Regions from separate parts of the Homo sapiens genome. Here region 2 is linked to region 1. Evidence: promoter capture Hi-C in 16 types of primary human blood cells and fetal thymus (Javierre and others, 2016). All regions are on one chromosome and are shown on one strand. Each heading gives the region's core, a stretch centred on a gene start or on the middle of the fragment in contact. The rest is flanking DNA. Distances are from core to core; before and after follow the strand shown.

Region 1 (7,727 bases), core at 2,118-4,617:
AATTAGCCTAAGGTCAGTTGTTTTCTTTTAGTTCATTTCATCCTGTGAATCTGAAGAGCCCCCCCAAATGAATAGTATTCTAGTCCAATTATGCTTTGTTTGAATACAGAAAATGAAAGAAGCCAGAATTGAGGAAAGTCAGCTATAGGTGAGTTTAGCTCTCTATATTAGGTTAATTAAATACCTGTTTATCTTTGACCTGTACTCTTTGTCATATCTACCATTGGCCATCATTCTTCTTACACTTTGACATTCATTCAATATCTAATACGTTTCTGAAATTCTCAGAGATGTGCTTTTCCTTATTTAAAAATGTTCCAGTCCTTTTCTGTCATGCAATAGATGTGCAGTATGAGATGAGCAAAAATTTTAAAGGTAGACAAGAACCATTAGAGGGAAATGACTTATAGGCATTTGCTTACCCATGTGATACAACATCCAAAGGACAAGAGTTAATAAGTTAACGAGTTAATAGTCAATAACCATGGCAGTCCTAATGCTACCCTTGGGTTTCCTTCTAAGAACCTCAGATATTAAAGCAACGAGAAAAGAAGGGAATGTGGTATATGAACATAACTTTGAGGAAAATAAAGCCTTTTGAATGGGAAGCAGAAATTTTAAGCAAAGCACACTACTAAAACCCACTGTGACTTCTAGCTACGAAGACAGAAATGTTTAGGAAGTCGTGGGTACTCATTTGGGGTTCTGATGTGATGAGATACATTAATACCACTCTATTAATAAAGATGATGTTCTCATCGTCATTAATTTTTTTTATTAGAAAGCAATAGAGCAGAGTTGAAAAGCTGTGGTCTTTCTTTGGAGTTTTGCTGATTTGGGTCTGAGTTCTGGGTTGGCCCAGGAGATGTATAAACTTACCAAATTACTTGACTATTTTGAGACGACCTTTCTTCATCTATAAAACTAGAATACTATCGCCTGATCTGTAGATTATGGAGAAGATAAGAAGCATTGTGGTGTTGTAGGCTAATACTCTGAAGTATTAACGGGGATCTTGCCTCCCTTCTCCCAATGCTAACTTTTTGTGTTCTCAGGGTTGTGTTGTTACTTTAGAAACACAGGGAGAAAGAAACCAGTGTTTCCTCATTTTTTGCTTTTTAAAGTAGATTTTAAATACTCTGGTAGAGAGAAGGGATTTAAAGATAAGGGCTTTGAAACTGCAAACACTTGGTCTTCTGAGCATCAATGCATGGTATACTGACCTACACACTAGGAAAATAAGAAAAATCTCCCCTTGCCACATCCAGAGTGAATAAATTGATAATAAGTACTACAAAAAGGTGATTTGGAAGTATTAATTAAAACTGAAAAGGCATGTACACCATGAACTAGCAATCCAACTGCTAGGTATCTACCCTCTAGAAATTATTGCATTCGTATGTACACAAGGAGACACGCCCAAGGCTATTAACTGAAGCATTTATTTTTATGACAAAAATGAGGAAAATCTATAAGACCATTCGTTTTGAAATGAATTCAAAAATGAGGTCATTCATAAAAGGGAATACTATGCAGCAGATAAAAGCAATCAACTAGATATATATTAACTTAGAACCATCTAAAAATACTTTGTTAAGTAAGAAAGGCAAGTTGTGGGATGACAAATACAACACGATAAAATTTAGTTTACAATAAAACACAGCAATAGTATACTAAAGATTGTACATGCCTGTATACTAAAGGTTGTATACAGACATATAGACAGATACCACCTTTAGTATATTAATATAATTAAAATTGTCATAGAAGGATAGAAAGATTTACATGCAAATCATATATTAGCAGTGGTATTTTGGAGGAGGAAGATAAAATTAGGATTGAGGGTGATGGACAAAGAAGACTTCAGCTCAATCTGTAATGTCCCGAATGAGGAAAAAAAAAAAAATCCCAAAGTTTCCGAAGCCAGAAGGAAGTGAAGAAGAGAGTTAAAAGGGGGCAGATATTGGTGATGGTTGCCAAGGAGGGCTTGGAATCTTGCCTTACACTCTGCTGTTGCTTTTAAATGCGGAGAAGGTTGGAGGAAAAAGAGGTCGCATCTGATAATATTGATCAGACTCAAAGAAGATGCGTGCCTCATGCCCTCCTGTCTGGTGCCCAGAGGTGGCAGCTGCTCAGAGGTCACTAGGTCACCATGGCAGAAGCACCGATGACCTGAATGCCTGTGGTAATGAATTCTTCCTTAGTCTTGCCTAAGACGTAAACTCAGCTGGGCGAACACCTTGATTTCAGTGTTGAGACCCTGAACAGGGAACCTTGTTGTAAGCTGCTAAGTTTGTGGTGATTTGCTATGCAGAATGGGGCCACAACAGGCAGCTTCGAGGCAAGTTATACAAAAATGAAATGACTGATCTTGCTCGCCTGAATACGATGGATTAAAAATATTATACACACTTTACATGTAAATGAGCAATGTATTGTCTCACACATAAGAAATCCTAGTTCTACTTGGGTTGTGGATTTTCTCCCCTCATTGCTGTAGGGGCCTTTCTTGCCTTCGTCCCTCCAAGGGAATATTCAGCACCTGCCATACCTCTTCTGAGCACACTGTCTTTTCTCGACAGCCCAGGTGAGGTACATTCCTGGTGCTCCCCAATCTATTCATATCAAGGCTGTACCCAGCTTTATCAAGGAAGACAATGTCCCTATAGGGCCAGGAAACAAGATCCCTCCCACCTTCTTTCAGACATTTTCTATGAACTTCTCCGAGGCCTTGGGGCCACGGCCTCATTAAAAGGACTGTTCTCTGGAGGCTCAGCAACGGAGGTCCTATCGGTACCCAGGATGACAACAGGAGAAAGTGATCAGCCGGTCATAAGGATTTCAAAAAAAAAAAAAAAAAAGAATATCTAAAAGTACTTATTAGAAATGAGAGTCACCAAATGTTTTACTTCAGGTATATCTATTATTTCATAGGTAATATGTAACTTCCTGAGAATCAAGACTGTAGGTCAGACCCAAATGAAGCAGTGATAACCCCGGGCTAAGAGCCCTCAGTTTACGGTGATTTTCTGAGTAGAAGGTATCATTCCTATGTTTAATATTCCTTCCTCATCCTGACTCAACAGCTATTCCATAGCATTAGGATATTTTGAGTCAAGGAAGTTCACAGTCTACACTCATTGAATTGAATGATATTGGTGAGGGGACCTACAGGAAGTCTTTCCTTGTAATGCTCAGGAATAAACAGGTGGTGGGAACAGAGATCCTTGTCAGCCCAGTGACCTTCGCACTTTATAAGTAATCCCAGGCAAGAGTTCTAGGAATGCAGCCTGCATGAGGGCTCAGGGCATGGTCAGATAGGGGCAGACCAGGGGCAGGTGCCTGGCTCCTCTCTGGGGTCAGAGCAGGCTCCCTCCCTGCCAGGTTGTGGGTGCAACATTCAGGGAATGGTTACTGAAGTGTTCCAGGCACCAGAGCTCAGGCAAGAAGTGGAAAACTGCGCAAGATCCTGCACGTGGGTACCATCAGTGCCTTTGTGGGGAAGTTACATCTGTGTGTATGTATATATACTTAGTATATATATACGATATACTTAGTGTACTTATATCGTGTATATATACTATGTACTTAGTATACTTACTTATATACAATGTACATATACTTAGTGTATATATACATTGCATGTTGAACTTACTATATATATACACACACACTACACACACACACTAATTGGTCCGCTAATTGGCTGTTGCATTTTGAACTTGGTATGTGTGTATATATACATGTGTGTGAGTATATATACACACATATATACGTATGTATATACATATCATATACATACATGTGTATAGATATGTGTGTATATATGTATATGTGTGTATATGTATATGTGTTTATATATGTATATATGTATTTATGTATATATACACACACACTAAATTCAATAGATATATATGCGTGTGTGTATATACACACACACACACACACACACACACACACACTGAGTTCAAAATGCAAGAGCCAATTAGTGGGCCAATATGAGAATTAAAAAAGAAAAAAATGTACAGCAAATTGAATAGGACGTATCAGAATGCATACCACATAATGACAATCAATATCACTTCATTAAATTTTTGCTCGACATACACACACGTATAAAATTATGTCTATAGTCATGATGTACGTACAATGTATTTTGTGTTGAATAATGTTGGAAAGCCACTGCAGTGGATATTTTGACATCTTTTATTAATATTTAAAAGAAGAGGGTGAAACAAAAAATGTGAAAAAAGACAAAAAAGTTTGACAGTACTGAATTTAGGAGAAATTGAAGGTTAGTTCTAGGAAATTTGCCTTCTTCCCCCTAGTTATGGCAAAAAATAACTTTTCTGGGGTTATAAGTCTGTGAAATATATAGGTAAATTTAAAAAATTTAAAAATGTGTAAATATCCAGTGTGAAATACATGTGAGATTGCTTACAGAAACGGACAAGGCCAATATACATGTGAGGCTTCTGGTTATAATGAATTCCAAGGAGATAAACTCATTTCATGTCCTCTGAGCCAACCGGGCAGTACCTACTTGGGAAAAATGTTTGAGGGCTCTCGATTTTTAAACCTGCTGAACCAATTAAAAGCGTATAAATTTTTCTAGAAGTCTAAATTAATTCTACGTCTATAATAATAATTATTTTTTTAAGTGATGATATGGGAAAAACCCAAAATATCTTTGCAACATACAGCCGTGCGTTTTTTCTCAGACCAACTATTTAGTGCCTCTTCCCTATTTGTAATCCAGTCTGCGTCATTTTTCAGGGCTTGTTTTGGGTCTCTGACTGCCTTCTTTGCTTAGAGTGTCTCTGTTTTCTGTCATAATTCACTATAGCATTCAACGGCTAAAATGACTTTTAAAACTACCTGGTGAATGGCAATACCACATCAAACCACTAGGTGGCAAAGCAGACTCGGAGAACGACCTCTCTGCCAGCAGGCGCTGAAGCAGCTACCCGTTCCCCATGCTGGTGACCAGGAACTTCAGCTTAGCTCAGTCATGCAGTTCGCGGAGGATATCAAACAGAGTCAACAAAGCTTTGCAATCAAACGTGTCTTTAAAGGGAATCCAACTTGTGAACCTGGCTCTTGATATTCATTTGAAGCTGCAAGGGGGAAAAGATGTTACCTAATATGGAGCAATGGCTCTTATTGTGAACAAAACATCTCTGAACACCAAAACCGGAATAAAATTCTATTTAAAAAGGGGAATTTTTTTTTTAGAAAGTTGATTTATCTTGCTGCCTCCTCCCTCGGTTGCCACTTTTCATGGGTTTTTACTTGATTTGATAAATATGGACCTTGACAACAACAATGCAGGGTGCTTGGAAAAGGATTTGCATCAGGACCTCTTACGTGTAGCAGTAGCTGCTGAAATAACAGTTTTTCCTCAAAAACAAAAACCTAGATTCGACTGATGTTTCCTTGCATTAGCACTCGCAAGTCTAAAACCTTTTGTCATTAGAATATCTAAAGAAATGGCACGAAGTGAAAAGCAGGCGGGAGAGGTTCTTGTTAAATATTAGTATGACCCCTTCACCCAGAAAGGGCAGACTCCTTGTTGCTGAAGTTACTCTTTTCTGAGAGAAACAGGGAAAGAGTGCAGCTGGATTCTGTTCCACTGCAAACAGATTTGCTGATTACTGTTCAACATTTTAAAGAGGTATTTATTATTATGTGTTTTTAATACTGTGCCTTTATAGTGGAGGATAAAGAACAGTGCTTTTAAAATACCAGCTGATCTAATATAACTGTGGAAGTTATTCTGATGAAAAATCTAGTGAAAACAGTCATTTGGACTAAATATTTCTAATATGTCAGTTTAGGTACTGAAAGGACACCTGGTGAAGAAAATTCCTTTGGCTTAATATTTATGCTTTCATGATTAAGTTAGACTCGTGATCGCTTTTTTTTTCCAGGTCCATATTTATCAGAGTATTTATTTTTATATCTGGACATGTTCCACACATCTGATTTCCCTTCAGACTTCAGCCTATTTGCACGCCCCAACTCATGCACGCAGATAGAACTGTATATTTGCAAAGAGAGTAGAAGCAATGTGGGAGGCGCGCATTAAACGCCTAACAACCTGCCATAGCATGCAGGGCCAGGAAGTACACCCGATTCTGCCACGTGGGCACATTGCCTAGGCACTCTGATCCTACATCCTCATCTACAAAATGAGGATTATAATACTTGAGGATGAAATAGAATCTGTATAAAGCACCCAGTATAGCCTGACTGGCCCACAGCAGTTTCTCAAAAATGGTAAAATCAATTCCATAATTTTTCTATGGCTGGTTGACTTTACAGCAAGGTCTTTTTCATGCCTAACAAGAGCTAACATTTGTTGAGTATAAAGCAGTGGTTTTCAACCCAGGGTGACTCTGCCCTAGGGGATATTGGGCAATGTCTGGAGCCACTTTTCTTGTCACAACCTGGGGAAAATGTGCTACTGACATATAGTAGGCAGACGCTATCAATGCTGATAAACATCCTACAATGCACAGGACAGCTCCCCACAAAGAATTAAGGCTGCTAAGATGTTGATAGTGCCGAAGCTGAGAAACCCTGCTCTAAAGGGAGATCATACAGACCCAGAAAAATGTAGAGTTGTGTTTCTCAGGAAAACCAGGAAAATGTCCTGATACTAATTAATGAGGCAAACTCCACATCTCTTCAAGAATCAGGTCCCACTTCTCTGGAAATCACATTCTTCACCCACCCAGCAAAAAAGGAATCTCATATTCACGTGTTCAACTCTTCAATCATTATTTCACACAGTAAATGTGTTTGAGTACTGCCTACAAGGCTTAGACTGGGGATGTGGTTCTTGTTCTGGAAAACCACTTGTTGGCAATGCCATGAACTAAACAAAATAATTGCAGTGGAAGGAGCAGTATAGATGATTAGCTTTGCTTGAGTTGATGTGGTGGTAGCAAAGATAAGGACATTTTGTGAGTCTTGAGGAATAAGACTCCAAGCTGCCATGTAGTCAAGAGAGGACACAGCATTCCAAACAGAGGGAAGAGCCTATGTCCCCGATGCACTCTGCACATATTCCTGTTACCTCACAGAGCACTTCACTGTGTCTCTCCCAGGACGGCACAGACCCCGGAGGGACACTTTCATCTTCACCTACTCAAGTTTGTGCCTTGAGAGTTAGCATAAATGTCTTTCCCAGAGCAGACCTAGAACGATTGCCTCTACTCTGTTTTAATTGAGATGAATAGTTACATTTTGTTGTTGTTTTTTAACCTCGAGGTTCAGGGGTACATGGGCAGGTTTGTTACATAGGTAAATTATGTGTTGTGGGGGTTTGGTTTACAGATTATTTTGTCACTCATGTAATGAGCATAGTACCCAACAGGAGATTTTCAATCCTTTCCCTCCACCCACCCTCCACACTCATGTATGGCCCTGGTATATGTTGTTCCCTTCTTTGTGTCTATGTGTACTCAATGCTCAGCTCCCACTTATAAGTGAGAACACGCCGTGTTTGGTTTTCTGTTCTTGCATTACTTTGCTTAGGATAATGGCTTTCAGCTTCATCCATGTTGCTGCAAAGGACATGATCTCATTTTTTATGGCTGCATAGTATTCCACAGTGTATGTGTACTACATTTAAAAAAAATCCAATCTATTGATGAGGGGCATTTAGGTTGATTGATTCCATGTCTTTGCTATTGTGAACAGTGCTGTAATAAACATATGCA
Region 2 (7,727 bases), core at 1,500-3,999, 340 kb after region 1:
ATTTTTTGCTATTAAATTTTTACAGAAATCTGTTACAGGAAAGGCAGCATGCTTTTGAACCATTTCCTGTCCTTATTCCAGTGTTCATGAAAAAGAGGAACTCTTTAGACAAACCAGCTGCTGGATTTCCTAGAATAGTAAATTACTCCAAAACTCTTATTTCATGTGATCCTGCCACACTTTTTTTTCCCAGCAGGATTTCCTCATTTTTCACAACTATTTGTTTCTACTCTAAATTAGCTTCCTACAAATAGCCTCTCGTCAGATGAGTACTTACCTCTGCAGAGTAACCATAAATAAAGAGACCCCTTGGTTCATTACATCCACATCTCTTTAACTAAATTCACAAAGCACAACTTTTCCATTGAAATTTTGTCTCCTTCTCTTGAAACAAATCGCTGCTGTAGTACAAACAAAAAAAATCTAGATTCTGTGAACCTATTTGGAATTCTTCATGATTATTGAAAAATCTTTTAGATTTAAAAATAGCAACAATGAAAATATCATATATTTGGAGAACCAGTAGAAAGGTAACTCAAGCCTCTTTTACATTTTTTTTAAGCTTTAGCCATTCTTACTGTCCCCAAATATTGGTCATTTTAGGGACATTCTGATAAATCACTATTACATTAGCTATCTGAGATGCTTTAAGCAATTTTATGCCCACTCTGAGCTGACCTTGTCTTCCTGACTTGGGGTAAACCATTTCTGTGATGATCTCCTTATTCTTAGAAACAAACAAATTTTGATTATATAAACTAAGAGAAAAAAATGTGCACCTGGATGTATCTCTTGGTCTCTTTCCTTGTTGCCCTACACCAACTTCAGAATAAAGAAAACATTGTTCTTCTTGAGAAGGCAGTGAAACCTCTGAAGCTGTAAACATTTCTAGAGGATAATATAAATCCCATCTGTGTGAATTATAATAATGATTATATTAATGGCATAAATAAAAGGTTTGTTGAAACTTCCAACAGCAGTGTACTGTTTCTTTGCCTATATACGTGATGAATTTCAGTTTATTCCATTTCGCTACCTGTAACATTTTTCTTTACATGGTGAAAAACATAAGTCCTGTCTAAAATGAATAACACCTTTTTTTTTTTTTTTTTTTTGGAGACAGAGTTTCACTCTTTTGCCCAGGCTGGAGTGCAGTGGCGCGACCTCGGCTCACTGTAACCTCCACCTTCCAGTTTCAAGTGATTCTCCTGCCTCAGCCTCCCCAGTAGCTGGGATTACTGGCGTCAGCCACCACGCCCAGCTAATTTTTGTATTTTTAGTAGAGATGGGGTTTCACTATGTTGACAAGGCTGGTGTTGAACTCCTGACCTCATGATCTACCTGCCTTAGCCTCCCAAAGCGCTGGGATTATGGGCGTGAGCCACCAAGCCTGACCCAACGCTTTAAAAATAATAATAATAATAATCATCATCATCATCATCTAAATAGAACACTACTATCCAGGAAATACATGAAAACTTTACCATTAAGTCTCAGGAAGTTTGAATGATAGAAATGATAGAGACAATCCTTTTATTTTTATGGTGAAGTGTTAACAGTTTGGGCTTTGGCATCCACCAGCCACGAGTTTAGATTTCAGTTCTATAACTTATTAGCTCCACGATGCATAACCTTTCAGAAGCCAGCTCTTTATCTGAAAAAAGGGGGATATCTCTTATCCATTTTGTAAAGTTGTTATGAGGGATCACGTGACTTGAAATGTGCGAATACTGAAGTGTAAACACAGATAACTGGGTATTGTCTCTAACACATGCCTCCCTTCCCCTTCCCCTTTGTTTCAGAAGTCATCAGGTACACATGGCCTGCACGGACTGATCAGAAATGATTGTGGTTGCTGTCGAGAAAGATGTCTTAAATTTCAAAATGTTTTAGCCTCATTAGTAGATGCCAACATGACAATTAAAACAATTGTCAAACATTGTATCCTGAACCGTCAAAACAAAATTTACGTATGCAAGGTTGGCCAGCAGGTGCAGCAACCTTGGCCCTCCCGTACAATGGACGACGGGAAAGAAAATTGGTATCTTGGAAGGATGGAGATGGTAAATTATAAGGCAAAAACCTAAAAATTTTTCTTCACCAAGAAATTCTGTTTACACCATTTATACTAGTAAATCTTCAAGGATATATTTTTTCATTTAGTAAATATTTAGTGTCTACTATGTGATAAGGACATTTCTAGGTTCTGAGAAGAAAGTGAACAAGAGTCCAGGTATTTTCTCTACTTTTCATAGAGTTTACATGCTAATGAGGAAATATATGATAAACAATTATTAATTATCAGTAATATTATCTATTAATAGATGGTATTAATATTAACAATCTTTTGATTATCTGTTATAGATATTGATAGTATCTATTAATAGATACTATTACTATTATCTATTCTTAATATATAATATTCTTTATGAAGAGAAGAAAATGTAAAGCTCTGTTTAAGAACGATGAGGGTGCTCATTTCATAGTCAATAGGCAGGAAGCTGCTAAGAGGAGATGGAACTTCCAGTGAATCTTGAATAAAAAACAGGAGGCAACCATAATCTGAGAAAATAGCATCTCAGCCCACGAGGACCAGGAGAAGGTAGTCTGGTAGATTACATATGTAGTGAAAGAGGAAGGTGAGACGAGATGAAGGGGAACTTCTGGGCAATGGCCATACAGGGCTCCGCAAGCCACAAATGAGAGTATAGATTTTATTAAGGTATTTTGAAAGCCCCTGTAGGATTTTAAGCAAAGGAGTGTTATGTTACGTTAATGTCATGTGACATTAACTGAATTTCTTGTCTTGGACAATCACATCATGACTCTGCAGATAACTGATTAAGGACAGCACAAGAGTGGTCCTGCGGAAAACAGGTGAAAGGTTACTACCTACACTGGTCCAGGCAAGTTGAGATGAACCAGATGGTGCCTGCAGAGTCACAAAGAAGGAGGCAGATGTGGGATGTGTTCTGAGACTGATTCAATAAAACCGACTAAGGAACTGAATGTGGGGAATGAAGAAAGGAGGAAAATAACACCTATGCTTTTGCCTAGATCTGGGGAAGGAGTGAAGCCTGGGAAAGGGAGATGAGACAGATGGGGGAGAAACAAGTTTGGGGGAGGTGTGGGAAAACCTAGAGTTCTGTTTTGGACATGTTAATTTAGAGCCACTTGTTAGGCATTCAAGTAAAGATGTCATCCTTGTTGTGTGGAACCTGAATTTTAGGGGTCACGGATGGAGCTGACATATGGGGAAAATGGACCCAGACACAGTCAAAGATTTACATGCCAGGATATATATATACACACACACATATATATATATACACACATATATATTTAAAGTTGCAATACAGAATGAATGAAAAGAAACTAAATATGGGATAAATAAATTTTGGTACATTCATACGATACAATGTTACGTATCCTTGGAAGTATATTTTAGAATAATACTTAGAGAAATGTAAAAATGGGAATGTATTGTTATACTATGAAGAGGTATGAGGAATGTGATCACACATTTGTGCAAATATATAAATTACCTAAGTCTAAAGTATAAAAATATTTGTAAGAATTACTTTGGAGTTTTTCAGTGGTGAGATTATAGGTGTTTTGTATTGTTTTTGCATTTTTTGTATTTTTAAGATTACAACATATGGAAAAATTAATGACCATAAAAAGAAATATCATTAAAAAACATCAGCGTATGAGTTGCAATAAAACAGCTGAAGACACTAAAGAAAGATGTAGCAAAAATACTTTAACAATATTTCACTTAATTTCCTAACATTATTGTAAAGTTACTGAGAATCTGAAAGTATTGATATATTTTCTAATTAATTTGCCTAAATAGTGGTATTTAAAAATACTTATCAAACACAAATTTCTCAATACTTTTTCCTGTGTTTTACACACATATATTTTTTGCCCCAGATAATTTTGCACACAAAATGCCATACTTCATCATTTGTATATTTTATTATGAATAAGTGGTATGTAGTTAGTCCATCTATCACTCTGAATTTTATTTGAAAAATTGCAATGTGACATCTACTGCGGTCAATGCCAAAATAAATGGACAATAGCCATACAATGTATTGTTTCACCTTAAAGGTTAATTTTGATAACACCTTGGAAATGATCAATTGTGCAAGAATTGGGTCCTGCGATAACAAGAAGGGTAAGATCCTGGACAGGGCATTAATTCCATAACTCCAGTGGTATAGTGTTATGTAGATGTGGAGTTATACAATTAACGCACTATGTATCCTTAACAAGTTGTAGGTTGTCACCATCATCTAATAACATGTAACAATTTAATCAATTCAGGTACAAGAAATATTGGCCAGCTTCTCGCAACTAACAATAATGTCTTAGTTTTGAGGTTAAAGCCATCATCAGGCTCTCTCTTGAAATTCGTCCTAACTTTCCCTGAAATCTTATGAGGCATATTTGATATTTTAAAAATTAGCCCCTCCGAATTTGGGTTTAAAGTTTGATGTAGTGGTTGAACTGTCAGTTGTTGGCATTCGATTAAATATTCTTGACTGAAATGAAGCAATTAGGGAAAATGTGTTTTATATGGTCAAGGTTAAGCTGAAATGAGAGATTCAATTTTAAACACAAGGATTTAAGTACTCAAGGGCATGTCAGAACATACTTTTAGGAAGTACACTGTAGAGATTCTCAGATTGGACAAATAAACTGATGAACCCAAGAAATATGATCCTGACTCAGGCTCACAGCATCAACTGGTTACCAATAGCTCCTATAGACTGTGAATAATAGAGACAGCCTGCTTTGCTAGTATGACCTTTTCACAGTTTATAAGACTCATAGACTTACAGAAAGGAAGTGAAAGGGAAAGTGATAAGAGATGGCTGTTGTGCAAAACATTTGTGTTATACTTATTACAAGTCTAGCAAAAGCTTATGTCAGTGGTTAAGGAAGTGCATATTGGTGGAAAAGGACTGGCAGATACCCTAGATGTTTTTGGGCACAAAAATTCACTTAGTCCATATTTATGGAGTATCCTCCAGGTGCCCTTCCTGTGAAAGCTTCTATCTAGGGTAACAAAGGAAAATCAGCAATACATATGCAAGAGGAGCTCAGAGACCAGTTAGGGAAAGGAGAATAAACATAAAGTAGATGATTTCAGTTTTATTTGCTAAATACTTAGTAAATAAAGCAAGAAGTTGACTCAGGTGACTCATAATTCTTACATAAGGCAAAAACTTTTGACCTGTATATTAAAGGATGAGTAGACAGTTTCCAGGTAGAGAGGGAAAGGCATTCTAGGAAAAGAGAACATGGGCCAGCCCAGTCACACAAAAGAGCTTAGAACGTTTGACTGTGGAGGATGCTGCCCAAGTTCCGGCTGTCAGTTGTTGGCATTCAATTAAATATTCTTGAATGAAAGTAAGCAATTAGGGAAAATGTGTTCTATATGGTCAAGGTTAAGCTGAAATGCGAGATTCAATTTTAAACACAAGGTGTATGTTAGGTGAATACAAGAGTGTCGCTGGATATGAGTTTGGAGAATTTCTTGAAATCAGACATTGGAAAGTTTTTTTATTCCCATTCAGAATGTGTCTGGACTTTTTGCAATCTATCCATCTGACAAAAGTCTAATATCCAGAATCTACAAGGAACTTAAGCAAACTTACAAAAAGCAATCCCATTAAAAAGTGGACAAAGGACATGAACAGACACTTCTCAAAAGAAGACATACATGCAGCCAACAACCATATGAAAAAAACACATCACTGATCATTAGAGAAATGCAAATCAAAACCACAATGAGATACCATTCTATGCCAGTCAGAATGACAATTATTAAAAAGTCAAGAAACAAGAGATGCTTGTGAGGTTGCAGAGAAATAGGAATGCTTTTGCACTGTTGGTAGGAGTGTAAAGTAGTTAAACCATTGTGGAAGACATCTGGTGATTCCTCAGAGATTAAGAACTGGAAATATCATTTGACTCAGCAATCCCATCAGTGGGTATATAACCCAAAGCAATATAAATCATTCTATTATAAAGATACATGCACATGTAGGTTCTTTGCAGCACTATTCACAATAGCAAAGACATGGAATCAACCCAAGTACTCATCAATGATAGACTGGATAAAGAAAATGTGGTACATATGCACCATGGAATACTATGCAGCCCTAACAAACAACAAATCATGTCCTTTGCAGGGACATGATGAAGCTGGAAGCCATTATCCTCAGCAAACTAATTCAGGAACAGAAAACCAAACACCATGTGTTCTCACTTATAAGTGGGAGCTGAACAATGAGAACACGTGGACACAGGGAGGGGAACAACACACACTGGGTCCTGTTGGGGGACGGTGGAGCGGTGGGGGAGAACAATAGAGAAAAGTGCTAATGCATGCCAGGATTAATACCTAGGTGATTGGTTGACAGGTGCAGCAAAGCACCATGCCACGCATTTACCCATGTAACACAAACCTGCACATCCTGCACATGTACCCTGAAACTTATAAAATAAAATAAGTGTCTGGATTTTAATCTTGAGGCAAAGGGAGAGACATTTACACAGAGAATAAAATACTCAGAGGTGTGTTAGAGTAGTCTCCAATGCCAAGGGGAATGATTACCAGAAGGGAGTAATGATGGTCAGAGAGACCATTAAAATATTTATTGCCATAGTTGAAGTAGAAAACCTCAGAGCCACATAGTAGTCATGGCAAGGCAAAGAAGACAGTTTTAAAGGAGGTTTGAATCACACTGACAGAGAACTCAGATGTAAAGATTAGTTTTATTCAGCAGCCAGCTGAGCACAGAAGTAGAGGTGTCAGGAGCAATGCAATCACGTTGCCTTGATCAACTTCACAGGCAAACAGATTCAGAGCAAAAGAAGATAGCTCTCTGGCCTACTTAAGTAGGCTTTTACACTTCTCAGCAGAGCCCTGGAGGGTCTCTTAGCCCCATGCATGAATGAAAGAATGAAATTAAAGTCCAAGATCCAGTTACTATTTAAAATTTTTAAAAAAATTTTATTTATTTATTCTAAGCTTGTAACTAATGTCCCCAAAAATAAATACGTAGAAGCATCATTCAATTCAATTCAACTCCATTTAACGAACACGCATTTGCTTTCTTCTATGTATGCTGCTTTGTGTGACTCTCCTAGGGAGAGTTAATAATAAAGCTGAAATGAACTAACAATTGGAACTCTTTATAAATAGTGGTTTCTTTTTGTCATACATTTTTACCATTTCTGTCTTGCAACTTATTTTATGTGCCTCCTCTGTGTGGAAGCTGTGGATGTATTCCTAACTTGAGGAGGCCCCTGTCATTACAATAATCTGTCTAATGTACTTTAACAGGCTTAGTATTAGAAGTATCGGAATTGAACTGGAGCTTTAATTACTCTATTTTTAGTGTGCTACATTTTGCAGGTTGTTAGTACTTTGGGTAGAAACCCAACAATTCTTGTCAACAATTTTCACTTTGGCAAACATCTTTTTATATTTGCTTTCCATGTGAAGTAGTGGAAAAAAAGGGCAACTTAATCTTGAGACACTACTTGTGTTTCTCTACCTCAACACTGTGTTGTCCCATTGTCAAAAAAACCATGAGACGATATCATTTGACTACATTATTTTTTGAATCTATATATTTTTTAAAAAAGCTAAAATGAGACATAAATTGTCAGGAATGACTCCAAAAATATTCTGTGGCTCACGTGTG

What was found. The method cuts DNA at HindIII sites, captures the fragments that hold promoters and counts their contacts. A CHiCAGO score of 5 or more calls a contact.
Region 2: a fragment that was not itself captured here is called in contact with the fragment with the promoter of CHRM3-AS1 in region 1 in 2 of 17 cell types (M1 macrophages and M0 macrophages); the score reaches 6.9 in M1 macrophages.

What each region holds. Positions count from the first base shown.
Region 1 is chr1:239,895,512-239,903,238 of GRCh38, reverse strand. CHRM3-AS1 (CHRM3 antisense RNA 1) reads left to right here and starts at 3,367. Exons shown (of 2, transcript NR_046582.1): 1 at 3,367-3,475; 2 at 4,847-5,220. All of the region lies in intron 6 of CHRM3 (cholinergic receptor muscarinic 3), which reads right to left. The HindIII fragment of the contact is 7,774 bases long and covers 1-5,051 here.
Region 2 is chr1:239,556,277-239,564,003 of GRCh38, reverse strand. All of the region lies in intron 3 of CHRM3 (cholinergic receptor muscarinic 3), which reads right to left. Among named protein-coding and RNA genes, the nearest start is that of CHRM3-AS2, 160 kb to the left of the region's middle. The HindIII fragment of the contact is 4,369 bases long and covers 565-4,933 here.